Regions from separate parts of the Homo sapiens genome. Here all the other regions are linked to region 1. Evidence: promoter capture Hi-C in human tissues and cell types (Jung and others, 2019). All regions are on one chromosome and are shown on one strand. Each heading gives the region's core, a stretch centred on a gene start or on the middle of the fragment in contact. The rest is flanking DNA. Distances are from core to core; before and after follow the strand shown.

The links. The method cuts DNA at HindIII sites, captures the fragments that hold promoters and counts their contacts. A contact is called where the count stands out against the background at its distance.
Region 2: a contact is called between a fragment that was not itself captured here and the fragment with the promoter of TERF2IP in region 1, in 1 of the 25 tissues and cell types used here (lymphoblastoid cells).
Region 3: a contact is called between a fragment that was not itself captured here and the fragment with the promoter of TERF2IP in region 1, in 1 of the 25 tissues and cell types used here (dorsolateral prefrontal cortex).
Region 4: a fragment that was not itself captured here is called in contact with the fragment with the promoter of TERF2IP in region 1 in 1 of the 25 tissues and cell types used here (lymphoblastoid cells).

The regions. Positions count from the first base shown.
Region 1 is chr16:75,646,231-75,649,097 of GRCh38, reverse strand. It overlaps TERF2IP (TERF2 interacting protein), which reads right to left and starts at 1,325. Exons shown (of 3, transcript NM_018975.4): 1 at 546-1,325. The coding sequence starts at 1,215. KARS1 (lysyl-tRNA synthetase 1) reads left to right here and starts at 1,433. Exons shown (of 14, transcript NM_005548.3): 1 at 1,433-1,520. The coding sequence starts at 1,459. RefSeq lists enhancers at 1-403, 201-470, 404-1,361, 1,401-1,580 and a silencer at 781-900. The HindIII fragment of the contact is 7,104 bases long and covers 1-2,867 here.
Region 2 is chr16:74,287,577-74,290,407 of GRCh38, reverse strand. No RefSeq gene overlaps it. Among named protein-coding and RNA genes, the nearest start is that of PSMD7, 7.8 kb to the left of the region's middle. The HindIII fragment of the contact is 4,708 bases long and covers 1-2,831 here.
Region 3 is chr16:76,663,389-76,666,366 of GRCh38, reverse strand. No RefSeq gene overlaps it. Among named protein-coding and RNA genes, the nearest start is that of LINC02125, 30 kb to the right of the region's middle. The HindIII fragment of the contact is 3,222 bases long and covers 1-2,978 here.
Region 4 is chr16:76,889,313-76,892,060 of GRCh38, reverse strand. It overlaps the pseudogene LOC100128497. Among named protein-coding and RNA genes, the nearest start is that of MIR4719, 22 kb to the right of the region's middle. The HindIII fragment of the contact is 4,659 bases long and covers 1-2,748 here.

The DNA of each region.
Region 1 (2,867 bases), core at 76-2,575:
CCCAAGAGTTCGAGACCTGTCAGGGCAACACAACGAGACCCCCATCTCTACAACAATTTTTTTTTTAATTTAGCGGGACGTGGTGGCGCGGGAGTGTAGTTCCAGCTACTTGGGAGGCTGAAGCCGGAGATTCGCTTGAGCCCAGGAGGTCCAGGATGCAGTAGGTCGTGATCGCGCGGCTGCATCACAGCCTGGGCGACGGAGCGAGCCCCCACTCAAAAATTAAAAAATAAAAACGACGAGAGGCCAGACGTGGTGGCTCACTCCTGTAATCCCAACACTTTGGGTGGCCGAGGCAGGAGGATCGCTTGAGCTCAGGAGTTCAGACCAGCTTAGGTAACAGAGACCCATCGCAAAAAAAGAACAATAATAAACAACAAGGGAGCGAGAAGGCAAGAAAATGGTGCAAATTTACCCGGATGTCAACAGGGGGCGGGGCCAAGCGCTGCTACCGAAGATGCCAAGATGGACGCCAGGCAGCCAGGAGAAAGATCCCAACCCCACCCGCGCAGATATCCGCGAGGCCCCGCGCTCAGCCTCCTCACCCCCGCTATCCGCGGCCTCCGGGTCCTCCTCCGCCTTCCGCTTGAGCTTCTGGGAGGAGGGGCTCACCGGCGCGTCCCCCAGCAGGTACTTATGCTCCTGGCCCCGCAGGTGCTTGAGGTAGCGGTCCTTCAGGGACTGCCACGAGTGCTGCGTGAGCGAGCTCTTCTCCATCGCTTTCCACAAGGCGTTACCGGTGACGGAGCTGGGCGAGCGGGCATTTTCCTTCACGTAGGTAAGGATGGCTACGTCGTCCGCATCCGTGAAGGCGATCCGCCCGGCGTGCCGCTGCGGCTCCGGCTCCGCGGCGCCCTCGGCCAGGGCCCCGGGCTTTGCTTCCGAGCCGGTGTCCGCCGCCGAGGCGGGGCCCAGCCGATAGGCCTCCAGCTCCAGCCTCTCGTTGCGCTCCACGCAGTCCAGGATGTACTGCGTGGAGATGAAATCACCCGAGGCCTCGGCCAGCGCCTCCCCGGGCTGGGCCAGCAGCACGGCCCCGGGCTCCTGCACTCGGCACACGGTGCCGCCGCCGTGCAGGATGAGCGTCGACAGCCGACGCTTGGCCGGGCTGGGCCGCACGTAGAAGGACATGGAGCTGCCGTCGTCCCTCACGAACAGAGTCGAGGAATGGGTGGGCCCGTTGGGGTCTTTGCCCAAATCCATCGCCTCCGCCATGTCTGACGCCGAGCACTACTAGAAGAGCTACCCCCTCGCGAGCGCCTGGCACACAGAGCTCAACTGACTGAGCTGTCACCGCAGACGCCTCTGCCGCGAAGCGCAGCACTGGGCCTGCGCAGCAGCAGCCGCGGCGCATCGAGAGTGCCCGCCCCCTCTCCCCCGGAAGAGGTGGGGCTTCGCACCTTGACCTGGAAATTAACGTACTATCCTCCTTACTTTTGGGTCGGGCCCTCCGGGAAGATGGCGGCCGTGCAGGCGGCCGAGGTGAAAGTGGATGGCAGCGAGCCGAAACTGAGCAAGAAGTGAGTGTCGCTGCGAGTCTTTAAAGCCTTTGCGGTAGGAGAGTCTGGGCTGGGAAGCGCCGCGAGGTTCCCACCAAGGCTGCTGTGCCGGGGCCTTCTTGCCGGCTCTCGTGGGTACGCACATGCTGAGACGTGGTGGCTGCGCCCTGCAGACCACGTACCCCGGGATACCCCGGGCACGCCGGCTCCCCGTTCCCAGCTGGCACCGGCGGGATGCTCCCTATCATACTCCTAGAGTTAAGAGACTGTGGAGGAGGAACTAGGACGAGAACTAAGAGTTATCAGAAAAGAAAAGCGAAACTTCCTGCTTAGCTTCATCCTCCTTTCTGAGAAATGCATTCTTTTGTTGAGCCACTCAGTAAACGTGGAAGTTGGAGAAATGTTAAATACCCTAGCTTTTCAGAAAGACCTTCAAAATTTTCTGGGCCTCACTAAGGTCATTCTGAACGTTATGTATTAAAAGGGATCAGTTCTAAAACTGTCATGCATCTACCCGTATGGGTTATTCAGTAGATACCTGTGAGTATTAAGTGATCAACGTCTAACAGTAGAGACCATCTTAATTCAGCCTGATATCTTTGTTAACCACTCCCAAATCCCTGGAGTATGTAGGTTAACATAGATAAGTCAGGATTAGCCACCCTTTAACTGGCTGTCTTATATTCTCATTAGCGTTCCCCATTTGAACCACAGAACACAGGTAATTGAGTGTTTTATCATTGCTAGGAAGATGGTACATAGTACCATTCCAGAGGCATACGAGAGGGCTTAATCCCCGTGGCGCGCACTTGTTATCCCAGCTACTCGGGAGACTGAGGCAGGAGAATCGCTTTAACCCAGGAGGCGGAGGTTGCAGTGTGCTGAAGTCGTGCCACTGCACTCCAGCCTGGGAGACTTGAGGTAGTGGTCCTTCAGGGACTGCCAGAAGTGCTGCGTGAGCGAGCCCTTCTCCATCGCTTTCCCCAAGGAGTTACTGAGACGGAGCCAGACCCTGAATGAAAAAGAAAAGAGAAATGATGTTTCTTTTTTTTTTTTTTTAAGATGGAGTCTCGCTCTGTCGCCAGGCTGGAGTGCAGTGGCGCGATCTCAGCTCACTGCAACCTTCGCTGCCAGGGTTCAAGCGATTCTCCTGCCTCAGCCTCCCGAGTAGCTGGGATTACAGGCGTGTGCCACCATGGCTGGCCAATTTTTGTATTTTTAGTAGAGACAGGGTTTCACCATGTTGGGCAGGATGGTCTCAATCTCGTTACCTTGTGATCCGCCCACCTTGGCCTCCCAAAGTGCTGGGATGACAGGCGTGAGCCTGAGCCACCACCCCTGGCCTGATGTTTCCTTTTGTGTCCCTGG
Region 2 (2,831 bases), core at 1-2,500, 1.4 Mb after region 1:
AGCCTAGGAGTATGAGGTTACAGTGAGCTATGATTGTGCCACTGCACTCCAGCCTGGGGGAGAGAGTGAGACTGTCTCTTAAATAAATGAAAATGAAAACTCCTGCTGTTTCATAATTTTCTTTTTTAATTTTTGAAAATATACTTACCAAAAAGATCTAAAAGCATGCTTTCTGTTCCTAAGAGTAATGTCCACTCATTGTTAGAACTTCACGTAGTACAGAAATATAAAACTTATAAAGTAAAAATCTCCCATAATCCCACCACCCACATATAATCACCCCTAACAGTTCGGCATGTGTTCTTCTAGATGAAATGTTTGTTTGAAAGTTCTGAAGAACCTGATTTCAGAGTGTAGTAGCGGCCATTGTGCCTCTTTGTTTTGGGGTTACTCGACTTGATAACACTTCTCATTTTTAATTTTAATCACCTAATCTCATAACTAATTGTAGGCATAATTAGTTACACATTTTGTGGTTGAGTCCCACAATTGCTCAGGAGCCTTCAGCTGTGCATCTTTGAAGACTGACCAGGAGACTTTTGCTCTGAGTCTTGGCCTTCTTCCAGTGTAATCAGGGAGCTTTTGATATTCTTTCTGTGTCTTGTCAATCCCTTTCATTACATGTACTTTTCTTACTTTTGGGAACATTGCTTTGGGTTTTCTTCATTTCTTTTAATATTTTTGATTTGACTATCAGATGACTGCTCTTGCATTCTAAGATAGCAGAACTTTTAGGTTAAGAAGATTTAAGTCAGCTCTCATTGTGTGATGTGTTAAATAAAGCATGCTTGCTGGTGTTTAGTGTCTGATTCAAAGTAGACGTTGTTTCATCTCTTACGTGATGCAATTCAGCATGGGGTAGACGTCTCTATTATGAAAAAAGCGTGAAGGAGTTTCCCTTCTAATTTGTAATTAAGGATTTAGTGGCTATCAGATGATCAAAGATTGGTTTTGATTTTTCTTATGTGTCAAATAAGGTTTAAGAATTGGAGTCTGATGGAAATATCATTTTGACTAAAATGCATAGAGTATAAAGAAGACCACTGGAAATCATAAAGGAGGCATTTTCTACATTGCCACTCCCCTTTTAAAAATATAACTGACTTATAAAATCATCTCTGATATTGTAGCCACTAATGGGGGCTGAATTTATTCAGAGGAATGCAGAAGGGAGGTGTAAGAAATCCATTTTCTTTTGTTCATTGAATTTTGGACTTAACTTTGAGAGAACCTGAAGAGAGTTTGATGATAATACATTTTCCTCTCCTTTGATCATTTTTATCTTTCAGTTTAGGGAGTTAGCCCCCACAGACTACAGCATCTTAAAAGAGTTGTTATTTTTGCTAAGTCCAGAACAAGGAATAACGGTCTTACAAGCATTTCAGCAATACTTTGAACTTTGCAGCCTCTATTTATCATCTTAAGAGATTTTGAAGAAAAAAGAATACATAGCAGAGATGCCACCTTTAGCCTAGGCTGTATGTGTTGTTGAGTTCAGACATCCTTGGGAATGTCTGGCAAACTAAGGTAGGCCCACTAGATCTCTAATTGTATGAGTCGCTGAGAGACCTGCAATGGCACTCATCTTAAGAGTCAGATACACTGGTTTGGCCCAGAAACGCACCCTCAGTTTTTGGAGAGAAAGTAGTGATTCGTGGGATAGTATGAATCTGCCACTCAGAGTTGGCTCTCAGTTCAGCCCCTTATATCTGAGTCCAGAAAGCCATGTTGGTAAGCTTTATGAGAAAACTGAAAGAGCTCTTTCATAAAAGCTCTGTGAAACATTTGGGCACAAGTAGTAGCACTGCTCATGTTATTTCTCTAACAGAGCGTAATCCAAAATGTGGGGAGTGGCTGGGCGCGGTGGCTCACGCCTATAACCCTAGCACACTGGGAGGCCAAGGTGGATGGATCACCTGACATCAGGAGTTTGAGACCAGCCTGGCCGACATGGTGAAATCCTGTCTCTACTAAAAATACAAAAATTAGCTGGTCATGGTGGCACAGTTGATAGCTCAATGAAGGCTGTGGAATGGGGGCTTTCAGGTTTGGTTGCCTGAGCCACCAGTCGTTCTGCTATGACATGGACAGGACCACAGGTGGCAGGAGGAGGAGGCCATAATGGTCGGGGAGACTTCTGCTCTGTGTTGAATTCCATAGCGTAGGATGCCTGAGTCGGCCCGAACTGGAGTCACAGGTATACCTCAGAGGCACTGAGGTGGGACCGGTTGTCCTGAGAGCACCCCTGGAACAGCCTAGCCCAGGAAAGGGTCCCAAGTGCACCAGCCATGAACAGACTTTGGAGGCCAACAAGGCCCCCAGTGACCAGGCCATAGGAGACATTGCATCAGAGACCATCAGACATTGGCCATGGCATGCCCAAGGACCAGTGTGGGGATAGGCCTGTTTCCTTCATGGCCACTGAGTCACGTAAACCCCATCCCTCTCTCCCCATGTGCCTGTACTCCTTAGGGAGAAAAGAGAGGGAAAGGAGGATGCCACTAAGAGATGGAAACTTCTCTTTTATTTTTTTTGAGATGGAGTTTCACTGTTGTTGCTTAGGCTGGAGTGCAATGGTGGGATCTCAGCTCACCACAACCTCCACCTCCCAGGTTCAGGCGATTCTCCTGTCTCAGCCTCCTGAGTAGCTGAGATTACAGGCATGTGCCACCACGCCTAGCTAATTTTGTATTTTTTTTTTTTTTTTTTTTTTTTGAGACGGAGTCTCGCTCTGTCGCCCAGGCTGGAGTGCAGTGGCGTGATCTTGGTTCACTGCAACCTCAGCCTCCCAGGTTCAAGTGATTTTCCTGCCTCAGCCTCCTGAGTGGCTG
Region 3 (2,978 bases), core at 186-2,685, 1.0 Mb before region 1:
ATGCAATCATTTTGGTGCCTTGAAAGCAAAAAGCCAGGAATATTTTGTGAACAGTATTAGTGATTATCACAAAAACAGTCACCAGGATTTCAGAAATGATGATTAAAATGGAAAACATTTTTTCTATAAAAGCAAAGCGTATTGGGCAAAAATGTATGCAGATGTCCATGGCATGAGAAAAATGCTATACAAAATATGCCGAAAATAGAGTGCAACCTAAGTGACACAATATGGGGGAACAAATATATTTCTATTTCAATTTCAATGTATTATTTCTGCTAGTCCCTCTGCTGGACAGATCACACTATAACCATACCTTAAATCATTTAGCAACATTTTCTTTCAAGTGTTAAGATTAATTATAACATTTTCCTTTCATGTAACTGAAGTGCCTGCTACCTCAAGTTTGCTATGCCTGACACACAGAGAATTAGCAAATAATATACTTAAAAGGATTTTAGAGTCATTTAGCGGTATAACTCTAAACATAATTGATTTTATTAACTGAGCTGCAGACTGCAGAAGGCAAAAATCAGCAGAATTACAAGTCACTACCAGCTGGTAATGCTGGGGTTAAAAATTAGGCAGTGTAGCAGCATCAATGCTTCTGGTTATACATTCACTTCCTTTGCACGCTACACTCAAAAGCAATGATTAATTACAAAATGTAATTTTAAAAACCACTCTCCTTTATAATAGCAAAAGAAACATACTGTGAGGTAACTAGAAACAAAAGTTTAAACTGTTACCTACATTTTAATGGAGCATGGTATTAATATGACACAGTCAAAGAGACAAGATGAGAGAATATTGAGCACAGACACACACTCAGGTGTGCCTGGAAACCTGGCTTGTGAAAAAGGGAGGCATTACAAATCACTGAGAAATGATGGCTTTTTACTAAATGCTAATGGGAAAATTGAACATCCATAGGAAAAATATATCCCATGCTCACATCACATACCAAAGTCAAGCTCAAATATACTAAACATCCCAATGAGTAAAGCTTATCTAAAATGTCTAGAAAATATATAGGTAATTATTCTTGGGATATCAGGGTAAAGAAGACTTTCTTAAAGCTGCACAATCATACATGAAATACTGCTACATCTATGCAATAAAATAAATCATAAACAGATTCAAAACACAAGACACAGGCAAGGAGTATCTTTATAGCTTATTCAGGCAGCCAGTATAAAGAAATCCTAAAACTCAATAAGGCACAAAATATGTATGAGCAGTCACCTGAAAAGCAATAAACACGTGGAAAGAAAATGTTCAAGCTCACTGGTAATCAGGAAAAATGCAAATTAAAGTCAATATTTCAGTCTCACACAGGAGAAACAGTAGTATATTTTGAGGAAATTGATCTTAAGAAGGGACCAACATATTGTGTTGTTAATGACTAATATGACAAGAGAGATAAATACATATTCTGCTTTGATATTATTTGCAGGATCTTTTTTTGGGGCTTCCTTCACAACATCAATTTTTACTATAAAGAGTTCAGGGACAGACAGCAAAGGGGATATAATCAAAGCATGCCAAAAAATAATGTGTGCTGCAGTCTTAAAGGAATTTAGAGGCTTGTAGCATCATTGAGTTGACAGCCCAGCAGAAAGCACACACCTACACAAGAAATGTAGCCTGAAGTAAAGACACTCTTGGCATATAATTTATCAGGGTGCTAATATGATAAACAACAACAAGAAACATGCCAAGAAGATACTTTTGGAGGTTATTAAAATGCAGAATGGAGAAGACAAAATGCTAAATATCCCCATTTGAAGTCAGGTGTTTAGTTACATATTGCAGCACAACCTCCCACTCCCAATGTATTGGCTTACACAATCATTTAGTGTTATTAGTCATAGTAACAAGAGTTGGCTGGGCTTAGCTAGGTAGTTTGCACCTGAGGTCTCTTATACCGTTGCCATTAGATGGTGGCTGGAGCTCGAGACTCACTTGTCAGGTACCTCCACTGGGATGGCTGGAACAGCTACAGGGTGATCAGGAATCTTCTCTCCCAGGCAGGCTTTCCATGAGGCTAGACTGTATTTCTTCATAGCATGATGGTCTCATGGTTATCAGACTTCTTACATGACCCAGTTTTCCCCCAAACAAGACTAAGGAAGACATAGGAAGCTGCCACCTTCCTATGATTTGCTTCCAAAATCCCGGAAGATCAATTCCGTTGCATTCTACTAATCAAGCCAGTCGTTAAGAGCAGCCCAGATTCAAGAGGTCTGGAAGTGGATTAGACTTCATCTCGTGATGGAAGCAGCTACGTGGAGGTGCACGGAAGGAGTAACAGGTGCCTATCTTTGGGTATTATCCACCACACAAGATAATTTCAACATTTCTTCACTCCTTACAGTGTGTTACCAAAATGATTATGAAAGATGTCTTCACGTATTAACATTATATGTGAATGGATCAAGCTTGTATCCCTAGGCACAGCATGGACACAGGCCAGAACCAACTTTAGTCTTCATCATGAGTGCCGGCATGAGAAAGAGGCTGTGCTATCTCCATGTTCCTAAAATAACATCCTATAGCAGATCTCATCACCTGGCTGTTTCTGGGAACTACTGGAATCACTGATGCCAATCAAACCAGACCTATGGACTCAGATCAATTGCGTGGAATCAGATTGATTAAATGATCTTCTAAAAATACCACATGCCTGAAGAAGCTTTATCCTTAGTATTATTCCACTCACGTAGTACTTACTTTCCTTAAAGTCAGATAAAATTGGTTTATTTTACAGAAAAGCAATTAATAGGCCAGAATGTGTATTTCATTCTGATACTTAATATTATTTCTTTCTTTTTCACATTGTCTTACAAGTGAATAACTAAGATTTCCAGCTAATACTATGTGGTGTTAGCTTTTATCATCAATAATTAATTGAACTGATTTTCTTGATCAAGGTATTATATAATTTCCTGTTTAAACTTCACACACTACCACAAATT
Region 4 (2,748 bases), core at 126-2,625, 1.2 Mb before region 1:
TGGAGTCTTTGATGCTCAATAAAACAATCTTATTGAATTTTGCTTTGCATCTTTTATGTATAAAAGTAAATTTGTTTGAAAAATATGACAATAGTGATTTTAAAAAATATTTGATACCTTCTTACAAATACATCTCAAATGATTGGAGCTGGGTCTTTTATATGTCTCAGTGTGCCATCTAAGTATCAACATTGTATGTGGATGTAAAGTATCAACATAGCATAGCTTTCTGGTAAAAAGAGAAAAATTCCCAACTGAACACCATCCAACTATACCGTTACCAACAAGTCATCCAAAAACAGGCCCAAATCCTTGTATCTATCACTGATTACATGAATCTGTTCTTATAGTATTACAACAGAAAGTCTGGTCAAGAATAGAAGAAATGACACATAAACAAGAAAATAAACATTGATAAGGTTTTGGTTAGAGGAAGCAAAATACCAATATACAAGATGAAATTATCCTTACAGGCACAGATATTTTCACATCATTCTGTCAGAAAAATAAGAGCACATGCTTCAGCTAAGTCTTTGGAGGATCCAGAGAGAAATATTGATGCAAAGAACAAACCACGTATACATAATACTCCTTCAAAACTGATGCAGATGACGTTTAAACACCAATGGGTAAAAATGTCATGTCATTCATATGAAGCTCTTATATTGTTTGCATTGTACTTTTTTGTGAGCCTTGTCATGTTCTCAAATAAGGTAGCCTTTTCAGGAAGACCAGATATATCTTGCATAGCAACAAGAGCTAATGTTGCCAAACTCACTTGAAAGTTGATGTGCAAGTGAAGAACAGGTGTGCCGGTTCCTTTACTCCAAAAATAAAGACAAATAATGCTTCTAGCTTGTCAGCATTTCAAGCTGACTAGAAGAATTGTTTCATTCTTCATATATAAAGAGACATGTAATTGATAGTTACATACACATATGGTTATAGTCACATATATATGATACTGTTTAATATTTATGATGTTGCTTTATATACATGATATACATATATAATATATATGATATATGTGATGAGAAGACAGTTACTTAAGGAAACACTCAGATGGTATTGTATTGCTTATAATACAATGGATAAATGCTTCAGGTAATGGATATCCCATTTACCCTGATATGATTATTACACGTTGCATGCCTGTATCAAAATATCTAATGTAATCCATAAATATATACACCTACTATGTACCCACAAAAATTAGAAAGAAAACACTTAGAAAATTATGTTCAGGTTATTTTTAATGATGGATTCTTTTCTTCTTCCCACTGATCATACTTAAAAATTAGAGCAATTAGGTTAGAAGGATAGCAAAACTAAGAAACTATGGAAAATATTAACTGGAAAGAAAACTAAAGACAAAACTAGACACAGATTTTTAAGTGTGTTTTACATCTTGAACAAGTTCTAATCTTTTAATTTACAAACGAAAGTGACTCAGGACAACTTACAGCAATAGAGTTTAAATTTAACATTTAATATTTGTGGATACTCATATGTGTAGCATCTGTTGTGTTTGTGGTCTGCATGTGTCTTAATTTTGTGTTATGAATATGTGTGAGTGTATGTTTCATGTGATGTGTGTGAGTATGAGAGTGTGCATTAAATTTTTTTTTAAATTTTTTTCCAGGAATGTCTCCTGAGCATGCACTGATGTTTTATGAGATGGGTGTCATTATGTACAGTGATTCTAAGGGGTCACCTACCATCCTGCTATATGAACCAAATGGGCTTCACTGGGAAGGTAGTGCCACAGCCATGATCCCCTTACCATGGAGGGGGCCCCATGGAGGACTGAAATTCTCTTTTCCCATAAGATCTTTAGAATAACTATAGGGCTTTGAGTTTGGAACCAAGTGAATAAAATTAAACAGCTTCTTACAGATGACTTGAGAAATGAATCTCCACTTTGTTTCCTTAGCTTTGCACAGCTGTTATGGAAGAAGGTATTTCTTAGGAAGAAAGTGGCCGTTCATTACAAAACAACCTATCTAGACAGCTCTGGGTACCTGGAAAAACAGTCTCAATGGAAGCAAGTTTCCTAGTTTTAGTGACTTTTTCTGCTGGTGGCTACATTCACCAAAAGTGAATGTAATATTTTCTCTTGTTTAACTTTGGCTACAGGACACTAAGGAGTTCCTTTTTATCAACACTGAGATTAACTGTCTCTCCAGGAAGAGAGAAACCAAGTTACTCATGATTTGGTCATGTCAACTTTTTTGACTTTCTGGCCAGGTTCTGCGCATGTTAAATTTTCAGTCTCAGACTGGGACCAGCAGATTTTCTCCCCCAGGCCCCTAGGGCTGTGCTTGATAATGACTCTGCAATTTGTCTCATGCTTCCCAGAGATAGGAGCATTTTTCCCCCCACTGTTCCATGCTATTTACAAAGCACAGGTATTATGATTTATTTCCTTCTTCAATATTTATCAATATTAATGAGTATCGTGTGCAGTTATTGGATGAGGCACTTACTTAAGTGGAAAGAGATTAAAAGTGGTGCTGTTATTTGGTATCAAGGTGGTTTAGGCCTTGAGGAGAAAGCTACCTGCTTCGATTAGCCTAATGAGACAACTTAATGAGAAAGTGATCTGCTTCAGCTATATTCTTATCAATACAAACAAATGGCATAGTTAGGGTATTTAGCTATATTCTTATCAATACAAAGAAATGGGATGGTTGAGACATTTGTACGTAGCCATTTTCAGTATACATATATATTTATTTTGCTTTAAGT